2 separate regions of the Homo sapiens genome follow, and region 2 is linked to region 1. Evidence: promoter capture Hi-C in human tissues and cell types (Jung and others, 2019). All regions are on one chromosome and are shown on one strand. Each heading gives the region's core, a stretch centred on a gene start or on the middle of the fragment in contact. The rest is flanking DNA. Distances are from core to core; before and after follow the strand shown.

Evidence for each region. The method cuts DNA at HindIII sites, captures the fragments that hold promoters and counts their contacts. A contact is called where the count stands out against the background at its distance.
Region 2: a contact is called between a fragment that was not itself captured here and the fragment with the promoter of P4HA3 in region 1, in 1 of the 25 tissues and cell types used here (IMR-90 fibroblasts).

Annotation. Positions count from the first base shown.
Region 1 is chr11:74,307,872-74,315,247 of GRCh38, reverse strand. P4HA3 (prolyl 4-hydroxylase subunit alpha 3) reads left to right here and starts at 3,608. Exons shown (of 13, transcript NM_182904.5): 1 at 3,608-3,836. The coding sequence starts at 3,637. It overlaps P4HA3-AS1 (P4HA3 antisense RNA 1), which reads right to left and starts at 3,886. Exons shown (of 7, transcript NR_120556.1): 1 at 3,799-3,886; 2 at 3,302-3,423; 3 at 3,029-3,129. The HindIII fragment of the contact is 9,884 bases long and covers 1-7,376 here.
Region 2 is chr11:74,271,516-74,278,891 of GRCh38, reverse strand. P4HA3 (prolyl 4-hydroxylase subunit alpha 3) reads left to right here. Exons shown (of 13, transcript NM_182904.5): 9 at 1,748-1,907; 10 at 5,285-5,347. Among named protein-coding and RNA genes, the nearest start is that of P4HA3-AS1, 36 kb to the left of the region's middle. The HindIII fragment of the contact is 3,974 bases long and covers 1-3,726 here.

The DNA.
Region 1 (7,376 bases), core at 2,359-4,858:
AAGGAAAGATTGAAGAACAGTACCAGATTGAAGAACATTAAAGAGATATGACAACTGAGCACACCAATAGTCCTGGATAGGATCCTAGATTCACAACACATTTAAATGGTACAATCAAGAAAATTTGAAGAAGGTATGTGGACTCGAGGTATTAGTATTTTGTCAATGTTAGTTTCCTAATATTGGTGGTTATATTGTGGTTTTGTAGAAGGTCTCTAAGAATCTTATGGGTGTACCTTATATTTCAACCAGGAAAAAAAAATGCTTCTAAGAATCTTAGGGCTGGCTGGGCATGGTGGCTCACACCTGTAATCCCAGCACTTTGGGAGGTCAAGGTAGGTGGATCACTTGAGGCCAGGAGTTCGACACCAGCCTGGGCAACATGGTGAAACCGTCTCTAAAAAAATACAAAAATGAGCTGGGCATGGTGGCATGTGCCTGTAGTCCCATCTACTCAGGAGGCTGAAGCAGGAGGATCATTTGAGCCCAGGAGTTCAAGGCTATAGAGAGTCGTGATCGTGCCACTGCACTCCAGCCTTGCAACAGAGCAAGACCCTATCTCTAAAAAAATAAAAAGACTTTTAAGACTGTTGTACCACAACCCTGAGTCTCAGCCCAAGTTAGAGAAGGGCACTTCTTGGGAAGAAATATAGATATGGTTTTTGTCTAACGGAAAGAACTCCAATAAGATTTACAGGAAATCCTCAAAGGTTTTAAGATGATTTTATCAATAGAAGTACTGCCCACTTGGGCTAAAGAGACAGAGACAATACAAAGCAGATACCTTTGGGTTCCTTTATCAGTTTCCTACTGTTGCTGAAACAAATGACCACAAACACAGTGGCTTAAAACAACACATATATTGTCTTACAGCCCTGGAGTTCCGAAGTCTGAAATGGGTTTCACTGGACTAAAATCAACGTGTCAGCAGGTCTCTGTTCCTTTTGGAAGCACTAGAGGAGAACCTGTTTCCTTGCCTTTCCAGCTTCTAGAAGCGGTTCACAATCCTTGACTGGTGGCCTCTTCTTTCATCTTTAAAGTCAGCAATATAGTACTAAGTATCTTTAAATCTTTCTGACTTTGCTTCCATTGTCACATTTCCTTCTATGACTTTTAAGGACCCTCATGATTGCATCGGGACTACCAAGATAAACCAGCATAATCCTCCAATGTCAAGATCCTTAACTTAATCACATCTGTAAAGTCTCTTGTGCCATGTAAGGTAACACAGTCATGGGTTTTGGGAATCAAGACATGCACATCTTTGGAGGGAGGGCATGATTCTGCCTACCACAGTCCCTAATCTTCTATGGTCAGAATACCTTCTATGGGAAGGCTACTCAGTTAGAAAGGGTTTGTGCAAGCTAGGAGCCTTGAAGCTTAAGCTTCAAAACCTTCTAGGTAAATCTGCCTCTGGTATTGATTAAGAATATGGAATCAGGATCCACATGACCTGGGTTCAAGTCCCTTCTCTACCACTTACTATGTATGTTGATTGAATTGATGTTACAGATTGGGTTTTCTAGAAGCAGAGGCACAGCTGGAGTTTGAGGTGCAAGATGTTTATTAGAGATCAGCATCTACGAAAGGGAAAGGAAGCAGGAAAAGGCAGAGGAAGAAGTCAAAGAGGCTTGACAAAGCCTTGATCAAGGTGGCAGGTGCGCTGGAGCTAGTATTTCCTGTAAGAATTGTCTCACGATGGGCCAAAATGGCTAGGCCTTGATTCCCTCACCTTGCTCCATTGCTGGATTAGGGCTGTTCCAGGAAGGACATTTCCCTAAGCGAGACTGCTCTCTGCTATAGGACAGACCCTAAAGCAGCTGACCACTGGATACTCTTCTCATCACATACCCTGCAGCTGTGCAACAAGTCCTTCTTCGAAGGGGGATCTGCATGTTACATCTCATGTCTACACAAGCAGTGGTGTGCTGGAGCTGGCTCACCCCAGCTCACAGGAGTTGTTGGCATCTTTATCCAACCACAGTCAGTGGTGACATTTTTGCATGTCGAAATTAGCCACTGTGGGAGAATTGACACCACAGAAATTGGCAAATGCCACAAACCAGAACTTTATTTTTTTCCTGGAGAGCTGGTTTACCAGCACACCTCGAATGTGGTCCACAAGTGATTAACACTGAGTAGGTTAATGATTGTCCCTACAATTCAGTCTTCTCATCGGTAAAGTGGGGCCAATAATACTGTAAGAATACTAATATTACTTAGGCTATAGGGTCAGCATGAGAATTAAATGAGTTAATACATGTAAAATACTCTGGACAGCGATTAAATGAGTTAATATATGTAAAATACTCTGGATGGCGACTGCCACACAGGAAACACCCGGTAAGTATTAACTACTATGTTTACTGTTGCCATTGTTATTACAATTATTGCTACCTTAAAAACTTCCACTGGATTTTCATAGAGGACAAGCACCTAAATTTCTTAGTATGACATGCAAAGACCTTTCACAATCTGATAGTTTCAAGCACAAGAAACTTTTCATCATTTCTGGAACTCAAACTGTTTTCCACCTCCAAACCTTGTCACGCCCATGTACCTTCTGCCAGGAAAGCCCACTCCTCCCTTGCCTGTCAACTTCCAATTTTTTTCATCCTTTTGAACCAGCACCCATCACCTCCTCTCTGATGCCCTCTCCACCCACTACATGAGGGTTCCTTCTTCAGTGTTGCCATTGCATATTGCACAACCCTCAGTTACTCTGACAGCACTTTATTGTGATTACTTGTTTACATAACTGTCTCCTCCTTTGAGTCCAGGATTGGATCTGCTATTTCTCTGTGTAGGCAGCACAGTAACACAGGTACTAATAAATATTTGTTGCATGAATGAACATTGCCTGGGAAATGCATAAGAGGGGGGAAATAGAGTACATAGCCTAGTAGGCTATAATAATAATAATAATATTTTTATTTGCTTAAGTGACTCTAAGTATATTGTGTAAAGCAGTGACTTTAGGACCCCAGAGCTTCAGGTTCTGTAAGTCCTAGATTTGTCATATACTCACATCCTGACACAGTCCTACTTATCCTTCAGATGGCTCAGATGTCACGCTCTCTGTGAGGGTTTTCCTCCCAGCTGTCCTCTTGCCGCTCTTTGCCTGCGCACCTATTCACATACGCATAATTGACTCTTCTGGACGTCCCTGTGGGGATCCAGTGGTGTTTGTGTATTCCCACTCCATGGTACAGAGGGGCGGATATTTTGGGGATCCTGTGAGCGTGGTGTTAACAATATTTGGGGATAGTCACAGCCTTAGACCTGTGAATTCATCGCTCACCCTGCCTCCGCCTCAATTTCCCCTAGTGTGATGGGCACAGTGGAAACACCTTCCCAGGGTCGCGATTTAGTGGAGGGCGGCGGAGACTGATGTTGCAGGAAGCCCCCACGCATTCCGAGGAGCTGAGGAATAGAGAGCGAGGTGAGGCGTCGAAACAAGGAAGGAGTCAGGGGGCGTGGAGCGAGACTGGGCGGTGGACGGGACGGGCCGGGCCGGGGCCAGAGGGCGGGGCCTGAGCCGGGAGGGGGCGGAGACAGGGGCGGGGCAGGCGAGGGCGGGAGCGGCTGCCGCCGCGCGGCCAGGACTGTCTGAGGGGAAGTTCGCGAGCGCTGGCTATGGGTCCTGGGGCGCGGCTGGCGGCGCTGCTGGCGGTGCTGGCGCTCGGGACAGGAGACCCAGAAAGGGCTGCGGCTCGGGGCGACACGTTCTCGGCGCTGACCAGCGTGGCGCGCGCCCTGGCGCCCGAGCGCCGGCTGCTGGGGCTGCTGAGGCGGTACCTGCGCGGGGAGGAGGCGCGGCTGCGGGACCTGACTAGGTGAGGGCACGACGAGTGGGAGCGACCGAGGGGCCTCAGTGGGATACACTGTGCCGCAGGGTGGGGTGACTCAGGTTGAGTGTGACCCCAGGCTCATTGTCATGCTGCGTGGGACCCCAGACCCACTGTCGCACCGTGCGACTGAGACATTGTGGCATGGGGTGGGGAGTGGCTCTGAGGGCCAGTGTGACCCCCTAGACCCATTGTCACCCTGTGTGGGACCCTGACACTCCGTGGCATGAGGTGTTGGCGAGGGTTGGGTCACACTGGGACTGCAGACTCCATCACACACATAGTGGCACCCCCCATATCCAGCGTCACACAGCAAAGTTGATACACTGTGGAAGAGCGGGGCGGGGTGACTCTAGGACCTCACAATGTGCTGTGCAAAGCTGTGTGAGCCCCAGGCCCTGTGTCACACTGACACAGACACAGTGGACGGTGCTGTGACAGAGACACTGTGAGAGTGACATGGAGAGAATACGGTGACGCTTTAGCTACGCAAGTATTGACCTTTCAAGGGGGGATCGTGAAACACCGCATGACCTAGTGAGCTGATGTTTAGTGTTAGGAGTCAGGTGACAGTCTTCCACCATATGTGAGGTTTACATGTCATTGGGACTGGATGGGCACGACACTGTGGATATCATACTCTGCATGTGAATGATGCTGAGTAACTGTACAGGTCGCTATATGAATAATGCTTCAGTTCATTAATTCATACAACACATATTTTTGAGTGCCTACTAAGAGCCAGGCAGTGTTCCAGGCAGTGGGGATAAAATGGTGATCAAGAGCCAACTCTGCCCTCGAGGAGTTTGGGTCTGTAGCACCATGACTGTTAATCAGAGATGTCCACTGCCGTCTACGTCTTCAGTTCTTCCTTCTCTTTACACATGTAGAAGCTCTCTAAATACTAAATAAATGATAACTGAGATGTTATATGTGTGTCAACATATTTGATATCAAAAAAGCACTGTGAAAAAACATACTTGATGCAGAAGATACTGAGTGTAGCACACAGCAGTGGATGCTCAGCTAATATAGTTTTGGGGTACAGTCAACAAACTCTAGTGCTACACACTGTGGCATAAAAGGTTGTCAGACTTGGGATGCTGAGGCACCATAGTCATGTATCGACTTAGCAGTGTCCAACTGACAAAAATGAAAGATAAATGATTGTATATGATACCATCTGTATGAATATGTGCTGCGCCTTCTCTGCCTGGGACATCAAGAAGCCTACAACACTGACAGAGTGGTTATGACCACGTCACTATTTGGATATATTAATATTGTACTTATATCATGTGACCTTATCATTGAGCAAAGACAGCACAATGCACTGCTTTTAAAACTTTGCGTGAGTGTGTGTGGTAATAATACTGATTCTGGGGTGACATGAGAAGAAGGTATGTGGAATGGGGAGTGACTCTGAGGTCCAGTGTGACCCCCAAACCCATTGTCACCCTGTGCGAAACTTTGTGACCCCATGACTGTGAGAGAGAGCTATGTAGAAGAGAAGCATTTTGTGGGTGGAAAGTATTTGCGAGAGATCTTGTTAATAGTGACTGAATGAGCTAATGTGGTGCTTGTCCTTAAGTATGTGGCTTGCGTATAAACAGCTTGAAATAGTGTGACAATATACAATATAGGTATGTATTAATTTTAACAATAAATGAAGATCATTTCAATAATTATTGTCACTCTTTGGAATAGCATAGTTGTCTAGTATTCTATGGGTCCATGTTGACCGAGCCAAATGTTTTCTTTTTGTTCATAGCCCAGAGTCATTGGAGTCCAAGCTTATTAGTGGAAATAGGACAGAATTTTTTCTCTTTGATTTCAGAGCCCAGCATTCTCCCTGCTACCCATGCTTGTTCTCATACCAGTAATCTCTTTGGGTAGCTCAGATGGAGACGGGAGTGGGGGGTCAAAATCCCCCTGCTGGTCTTTCAGGTTACATTCTCAGAAGAGAGCACTTGAAGCATTTTGGCCAAAGCAGCTGGCCAACCCCATTCCACCATGCTGGTCTCCTTCACTGTCTTTCCACCACTGTCATTATCACAACTTTGTCACAGCAGGAGGTCTCATACAAACCATATCTCATCTGATTCTCTCTCACACACAATGCTTTGAAATAGATTTGTATTACACTTGTTAACTATTGAGAAATCAGTTAAAACATGAGAAAACTAAAGTCTAGTTGCTCACTCAAGATTGTATTAATAAATCTAATAGGTAGCAAATCCAGGACTAGGACACAGTTGTTTTGATTGTTTATCCAACTTTTTTCCTACTATGCTATGTTATCCCTACCACTTCTTTTATCTGTTATACCAAGACATAGACCAAGCCCCTAACTAATTGAGGTTTTACTAGTGGCCACAGTACATGGTGGTTAACAGTGAATTCAGGAGTTTAACAGACCTCTATTTGAATCGTTGGCTCTGATCTTGGACAAGTTACTTTACCTCTTTGAGCTTTAGTTTCCTAATCTGTAAAATGATGATAAAAATAGTACCTACCACCATAGGGTTTTTGGAAGGATTAAGAGTACCATGTAAAAGTTTTTATCATTGTACCTGGCATGTAACAATTGATGGACAAATGCTAAGCCTTTATGCTTATTATTTTATTTTATTTTATTTTAAGACCATCTAGTGAAACTAGGCCCCACTTTTGGCTCTAAGTATTAACTAGGATTGTGACAGCCTAGATAAAAAAACAAATCAGAAAAGTTCTCAATTATTTTCTCAGGTGACTTATGAACAGTTAATTTTGTAGTTTAGTTTGATATTTTGAAGACTGTCATTCTGTCATTCTGTTCTCTAGTGACTGCTCTAAAACCCAGTGAAATGTTTGCTTTTTAAGAGACAGGGTCTTGCTCTGTCACCCAGGCTAGAGTGCAGTGGCTCTATCATAGCTCACTATAACCTCAAACCCCTGGCTCAAGTGATCCTTCTGCCTAAGCCTACCAAGTAACTAGGACTACGGGTGCACACCACCATGCCTGGCTAGGGTTTTTTTGTTTTTGTTTTTGTTTGGTTTGGTTTGATTTGGTAGAGACGGGGTCTTGCTCTCTTGCCCAGACTGGTCTTGAACTCCTGACCTGAAGTGATCCTCCCTCCTCGGGCTCCCAAAGTGTTGGGATTGCAAGCATGAGCTACCGTGCCCAGCCTTTATGTTTGCCTTTTAAAACAAGAATTTTGGCAGTTCTTGCTAATTTTTCTATACTCCCAATCTGGTGATTTTATGTAACTTGAGAGGCTATTTCCAAGGCTCTCAGTTGAGATAGAAAAATGCAGTATTCTTGAGGTTGAAACTACTCCCTACTCCAAGTTAATGAATAAAAATTATACTTGTTATAGTATATATAGTTATATGCCAGTATGGTACATATACTAGTTATATATATAAAAAGAGTTTATCCTAGCTTTTGTTGTTGCTGTTTTTGCAGTTTAAAACACCACCAAGAGTGAGAGAGAAGTGTCAGCAGCAATTTTTTCTGTGCTAAGGATTAAGCATTAATAATGTCCC
Region 2 (7,376 bases), core at 490-2,989, 34 kb after region 1:
AGCCCTTTACTTACATCCACCAAAGACATGTGAGACAGTGACGTCAGCATCCTTGGGGGGAGGCCAGACCTCAGGATGGAGATCAGTTTGTGCTGTCTGGGAAGGGAGGTGAGTGATGAAAGCTGTGATTCAGAATCATTTGGCTTAACTTACTTGGTCTGGTACATTAAGGGCCTTTCATATTAGTAGTTATTCTCTAACCTATGGAAGGTCCCTATGACCTCAGCCTCATTGCTTTTTCTAACCTTTCTGATATTCTAGTGTCAGAGAGAAAATTCAGCCTTGGGTTAATTGCTTCCAGGGGAGCAGGTGGTATTTTCTTCCCTTTTCCGAACAAGAAACTACTTTCTTTCTCCACTTGCATCACTCTTCAACTCTTTGACTTTTGGTTCTGTCCTCACAACTTCGCTGGAGCTGGTCTCCCAAAGGTCACCAGGGAACTTCTAATTGCCAAATCATTTTCCTGCTCACACACCTTCACTGAGTACCCATTATCCATAAAGTCCAGATTCCATATCACAGTGTTTTCAGTTTTCTATGTCATGCCCTGAGCCTGCTTCTCCAGCTGTATCTCCCGTTACTTCTTCCTATCTCCTTATTCATAATTTATTGCCACACCTCCATGTCTGTGCTTATGCTGTTTCTTCAGGCTGGAATACTCCTACATCTTTTCCATCTATTGAAATTTTATGCACTCTTCAAAATTTGGCTTAAATGTCACTATCTTACCTGAGTGCCCCACTGGAATGAACTTCTCCTTCCTCTGTGCTTCCCAGCACTTTAAAGTCTGTTTCTCAATTTTTCACTGTACCTTACTTTGTTCTTAGTTATATTTGTGTTTGTCCTTTCCCCCATAATCCATGAGCTCTTAGAAGGCAATAGCTCTGTCTTGGGGATCTCTGTAACCTAAGAGCATGTGGCATAGCACTCTGCTTGCACTCTATTTGAAAGAATGAACACACTAATCCATCAAAAGCAAAGAGCAAAGAAATGGTCTTCCATATCATGCCAAGGCTGTTCCCTCAGAGCCTTATCGTCTCCCCAGGAGACCCACTGGCTTTAGGGAGCACTTTCTCACTTCCCAGGGACGTAAATTCTGATTCCAAAGTTGCCACTTTGTCAGAACCTCAACAAGACATTCAGGAAAAGAGACTGAACTCTGCTGTTTGGCCTTTGCCCTATCCTGGCTTGTCTTGCAGTAGAGCAGAGATTTTCCTGTGTTTAAAAGTAACACTAATGTATAGTTCACAAAGTGTCTTCATAAGCATTGCCTCTCACAATCTTTATAAGTCTGTGAAGTAGATATTATTATCATCCCAATTTTATAGACAACACACTGACCCTTAGAGAGGTTAATGGTTAAATACTTGACTTAGGATCACAGAGGATCAGGGACTCGTCACATTTCTCTAAATCACAAGCTTTTCCCACTGTACCCGGGTCCCTCTGTTCAGATGTCTCTACACCATAGCAGCTTTGAAGGCAGGGGTTTTGTCTTATTCCTCTTTGTATCTCAATGCTGTGAGTTTGTTGAGGTAGAGAACAAAGTGGACTGGGCAGACTTAACATGAGGAATGCATAGGTAATTAGGCATTTATGTCTGTCTTCCCTCCCTCTCTTTCCTCCTTCCTTCCATCCTTCCTTCTGGCAATTAACATAATTCATTTGTTTATTCATTCATTCAGAGACGTCATTTAGTCATTTCGGGCAACAGATCATTGATGCTTCAATCTGTGGTGTGTTTTAGTGCCTGGCTGAAGGACACTGTTGACCCAAAACTGGTGACCCTCAACCACCGCATTGCTGCCCTCACAGGCCTTGATGTCCGGCCTCCCTATGCAGAGTATCTGCAGGTGGTGAACTATGGCATCGGAGGACACTATGAGCCTCACTTTGACCATGCTACGGTAATGGTGGAGTCAATGACCAATCCCCTGGGGTAGGGAGCCAGGGCATTATTTATTTCTCTGAGGCAGAGCTCTTGTAGGCTCTCAGGGAATACTAAGTGAAATCTTAGAACAAAGGTTCTTTTTCCAGAAATATCTGAAAGCCTTAGTTTCAAGCATATTGTTGCTGACTCATTTTCTTGTCTGCCACCATCTCCCTTCTAAAATTTGCTGGTGAGGGAAGAATGTGGCTTGTCATGGAATCATCGGACTGCTCCACTCAGGGACTTCCTAGTGAGGATTGTCCTTCCTCCAGTAACTCTTCTAGCCTCATGATCTCAACTGGCCATCTTTGCTGATAATAGCAAATAATTTTTTTAAAATTTTAGATTCATGGGGTACATGTGCTTGTTTTTTATTTACGTATTTATTTATGTATTTATTTTTTTCTTTATAGGCAGCATCTTGCTCTGTTGCCCAGGCTGCAGTGTAGTGGCACCATCATAGCTCACTGCAGTCTTGAACTCCTGGGCTAAGTGATCCCCCCATCTCAGCCTCCCAAGTAGCTCTAGGACTACACCTGGCTAATTTAAAAAAATTTTTTTTGTAGAGACAAGGTCCTGCTATGTTGCCCAGGCTTGTCTTGAGCTCCTGGGCTCAAGCGATCCTCCCACCTCAGTCTCCCAAAGTGCTGACATTACAGGAGTGAGCCACTGCACCCAGCCATACTTGTTATATGGGTATTGCATGTGTAATGGTGGGGACCACACTTCTAGTGTACCCATCACCCAACTATTGAATGTTTTACCTGACACGTAATTTTTGAACTCTCACTCCCCTTTCACCCTCCCCCATTTTGCAGTTTCCAGTGTTTGTTACCTCCATCTTTATGTCCATGTGTACCCATTGTTTAGCCCCCACTTATAAGTGAGGACATGCAATATCTTATCTTCTGCTTTTGAGTTAGTTCACTTAGGATAATGGCCTCCAGCTCCATCCATGTTGCTGCAGAGGAAATTATTTCATTCTTTTTATGGCTGGATAGTATTCTGTTATGTATATATACCTTATTTTCTTTATCAAATCAACCATCGATGGACATTTAGGTTGGTTCCATGACTTTGCTGTTGTGAATAGTGCTGCAATAAATATCTGGGTGCAGGTGTTTTTTCTGTAATATAATACTTTATTTTCCTTTGGGTAGATACCCAGTAGTGATTTTTGAGGATTAAAATGACCTCCCCAAAATTGATCTATAAATTGAACCCCAGCTTTATAAAAATTCCAGGAGGTTTATTTTTGTAGAAATTAGCATGCTGATCCTAAAATGTATATGGAAATGCAAAAAACCTAGAGCAGCCAAAACAATTTTGAAAAAGAAGAACAAATTGGAGGACATACACTATCTGATCTCAAAACTTAATATAGAGCTACAGGAATCAAGGCAGTGTGGTACCAGTGTAAGGAGAGACACATATGTCAATGGAACAGAACAGAGTCCAGAAACAAACCAACACATTTATGATCAATTGGTTTTGACAAAGGTGCCAAGGAAATTCAATGAAGAAAATACAATCTTTTCAATAGACAGTATTGGAACAATTTAATATCTATCTGCAAAATAATAATGACTTTACACCCTTACCTTACACCATATATGAAAATTAACACAAAATGGGTCATAGATGTAAATGTAAAACTATAAAACTTCTAGAAGAAAACATAAGAGAAAATTTTTGTGACCACAGGTTAGGCAAAGATTTCTTAGATATGACACCAAAGTATGATCCATAAAAGAAGAAAACAACTGATAAATTGGACCTTATCAAATTAAAATTCTTTGCTTTTCAAAAAACATCATTAGAAAAGGAAAAGACAAGCCACCAACTAGGAGAAAATATTTGCAAATCATATATTTGGTAAAGAACTTGTATCCAAAATATCTATAGAACTTTTATAACTCAGTAATAAGATAATTCAATTTTTTTTAATGGACAGAAAGTTATTTGAGTAGGCACCTCTCCAAAAAGGATAAATGAATGGCTAAGAAACATATGGAAAGATGCTCAACATCATTAGGGAAATGCAAATTAAAACCACAATGAGATAGCACTGCACTCTCTTATGATGGCTACAATAAAATAAGATTATACCAAGTGGTGGTGAGGATGTGGAGGAACTGAAGCTCTCATACACTGCTAGTGGGAATGCAAAATTATACAGACACTTTGGAAAAAAGTTTGATGGTTTCTTAAAAAGTTTAAGATTCACCTACTTATGATCCAGCCATTTCACACCTATGTATATTACCCAAAAGAAAAAGAAAATATGTCTCTACAAACATTTGTACAGAAAAGTTTATAGTAGCTTTATTTGTAATAACCAAGAATTGGGGCTGGGCACGGTGGCTCATGCCTGTAATCCCAGCACTTTGGGAGGCCAAGGCAGGCGGATCACGAGGTCAGAAGATCGAGACCATCCTGGCTAACACAGTGAAACCCCGTCTCTACTAAAAATACAAAAAAAAAAAAAATTAGCTGGGCATGGTGGCAGGCGCCTGTAGTCCCAGCTACTTGGGAGGCTGAGGCAGGAGAATGGCATGAACCTGGGAGGCAGAGGTTGCAGTGAGCTGAGATCACGCCACTGCACTCCAGCCTGGGCAACAGAGTGAGACTCCATCTCAAAAACAAAAAAAAAAAAACAAAAAAAAAACCAAGAATTGGAAACAGCCCAGATGTCTGTCAACAGGTGAACGGATAAACAAATTTTGATATATCTGCACAATGGAATGCTATAGAGAGAAAGCAGATAAGTGGGTTGCCTGAGGTTGGAGGTGAGAGCAGGGATTGACTCCTAACTGGCATGAAGGAGCTTTTCAGCAGATGGAAGTGTTCTGTGTTCTAAACTTCAATTGTGGGAAAACTCATTGAACAGTAGGCTTACAAGGGGTGAATTTTATGGAATATAAATCATATCTCAAACTGTTCCATGACAAAAAAAAAAGAGTATGTCTCTTCAGCAAGTAATTGGAACTCTGGCCTTATGATTTGGTATTTCTACAGAATAATTGTCTGTAATATTTTATATATTAATTTCTATATTTCACAGAGAACTCAAAGGTGCAATTAACCCCTCATATAGTACTTTCACTACTGACAAGTAGTTCTGTTTGGTAGTAGACAATTCTTTTATATAAGTATCTAATAAATTAGTAAAAAAAAAAATTGTATTGAGTACCTGCCAGCAAAGACGGGCACATACTCCAGTAGGTGTATATCAGAACTATATCCCATCTTTGATGCCCCCATTTTACTTCTATTTGTATTAATAGTGGAATCCTGCCTGTCCCTCTGGTGCCATCTGCATAAAATAATATGTTCTGTTTTTTTTTTTCTCAGTCACCAAGCAGCCCCCTCTACAGAATGAAGTCAGGAAACCGAGTTGCAACATTTATGATCTATGTGAGTATTGCTCTGGGCTTCTTACTTCATGACTGACTATAGCTCTACTTTATTTTATTGTTTTCAAAGCAATTTCACGTATTGATTTTATCTGGTACTCAGCGCAAAAATCTCCAGGAATTTTGCGAATTTCAGACAGCATTTTTGATAGGCACTGTAGGAGATGTAAAGAAATACAAGACAAGGTTTCTACCCTGAAAGAGGCTGACAGTGTGTAAATCTAAATATGACCTTGGTATGGGCAGTGGATTAGGATGGGAAGTGGAGCTCCACTGAAGGCCAAGAGATAGAGGGACTTGAACAACACAGGAGGAGGATCTGAGAATCTGTGTCCTTGAGGTCTCATGGACTAATCAGTGTTGAAAAACAACCCATAGATGAGGTTGTGGGGCTGTGGGGAGGGAGATGGATGAGGAATGAGGCAGCAGATTTACAAGAGGGAAGAACAGAGACACTGAGAGAAATTCAGCAAGTGCTGCCTCTGATGTTTAGTGAAAATTCTCTTCCTTATCTCTCTATAAAATCTTCAGTAAAATCTCCATGACTCCCCTTTCAAGATAAACCAATAAATTGTACTTCTCTCCTAATTCCTGGCCTGATCAGGATTCGGCCCCAGTCTGTATCATCTCACCTGTCCCCTTCCCTTCAGATCATGTGGGTTTACTTTCGTCTCTATGGACAAGCTTCCAATCACCTGTCACTGGAAGAGAATATTAGAATTAATCACTTATTAGAAGAGATACCTTACTGTTAACTGAAGGGACAAACATATATAAGGGTTCTATATAACAACCAAAGATGAAGTCCTTGTTTCAGCCTCATTAGAATAGCAGACATCCCTCACCCCAGCTTTTCCTCTTCTATTAGGACTGTCTCTGGTCTCCACAGGACAGCCAAGAAAGGGCAGTCAGAGGCCAGCATTCTGTGTAGTCTTTAATGCCAGCAATTCCAGTGTGTTTCTCTATGTGGCTCAGTTCTGTACTTCCTATGGAACTGGAAGGCTTCCACTTACAATGGTGTCTGGCCTCATTCTGATCATTCTGAGGTCAGCTATCAGGCAGGGGACACATCTTGGAGCTGCAGTTGGTTGCATCTCTGGTTGACCACTCCAGCTGTTATGGGAGGTCACAAACGGCGAAAGAATGAACTGCTGCCAAAAAACAGGGCATCTAGGGCACAATATATCTCTGTTCTTTATCCCCTCAATATCTCCTATGGCTGGTTCCCTGGTTACAGGGCCCCAGTTACTATAGCGAAGGTAGCGTGGGTATAAGAGCCCAGTAATTTTAAATGGCAAATGCATGTGTGTGTGTGTGTGTGTGTGTATGTGTGTGCATGCACTCTCATGCACTTTCACATGTGTGTGCATGCATGTGCATTTGGGTTTTAAGTATTTGAGACAGAGTGGAATGGAATACACTTTGGATTTGGAGTCAGTTGACCTAATCCTGATTTTGCCACTTACTATGTGGCCTCAGCACAGATTACATCTATTATGTGAGCTCACTTTTTGCCCTGTGCTTCCTCACAGTGTTGTTGTGAGGGTCTGATGAGATAATGTAAGGAGGGATGTCACTCTGGAAAGTTCCATACTGTATGTTTCTGTCATTGTATCCCACAGAGCAATTAAAGGAAAGGGTATCATAAAGGGGAATCAGTATCATGGGACCAGGGAAGTGCTAGATTATGCCCAAGTCTTTCATCTTCAGGTTGGGATTTCTCGAGACAATTTCAAGACAAACATTTCTCAAGACAAATGTTAAGGTTTGTGGGAAACCTAAGACTGATTTTATAGGGAGAAAATAATCTTTAAGAAGTACAGAGGATTGAGTTGAAGTCCAGTTGGTGATTTTCTGCTCAGATTGGACATAAGATCAGTCCCAATCTGGGTGCGGTGGTGTGCACCTGTAGTCCCCGCTACTTGGCAGGCTCAAGCAAGAAGATCGCTTGAGCCCAGCAGTTCGAGTCCAGCCTGGGTAACATAGTGAGACCCTGTCTCTATTAAAAAAAAAAGATCAGCCCCAGTACA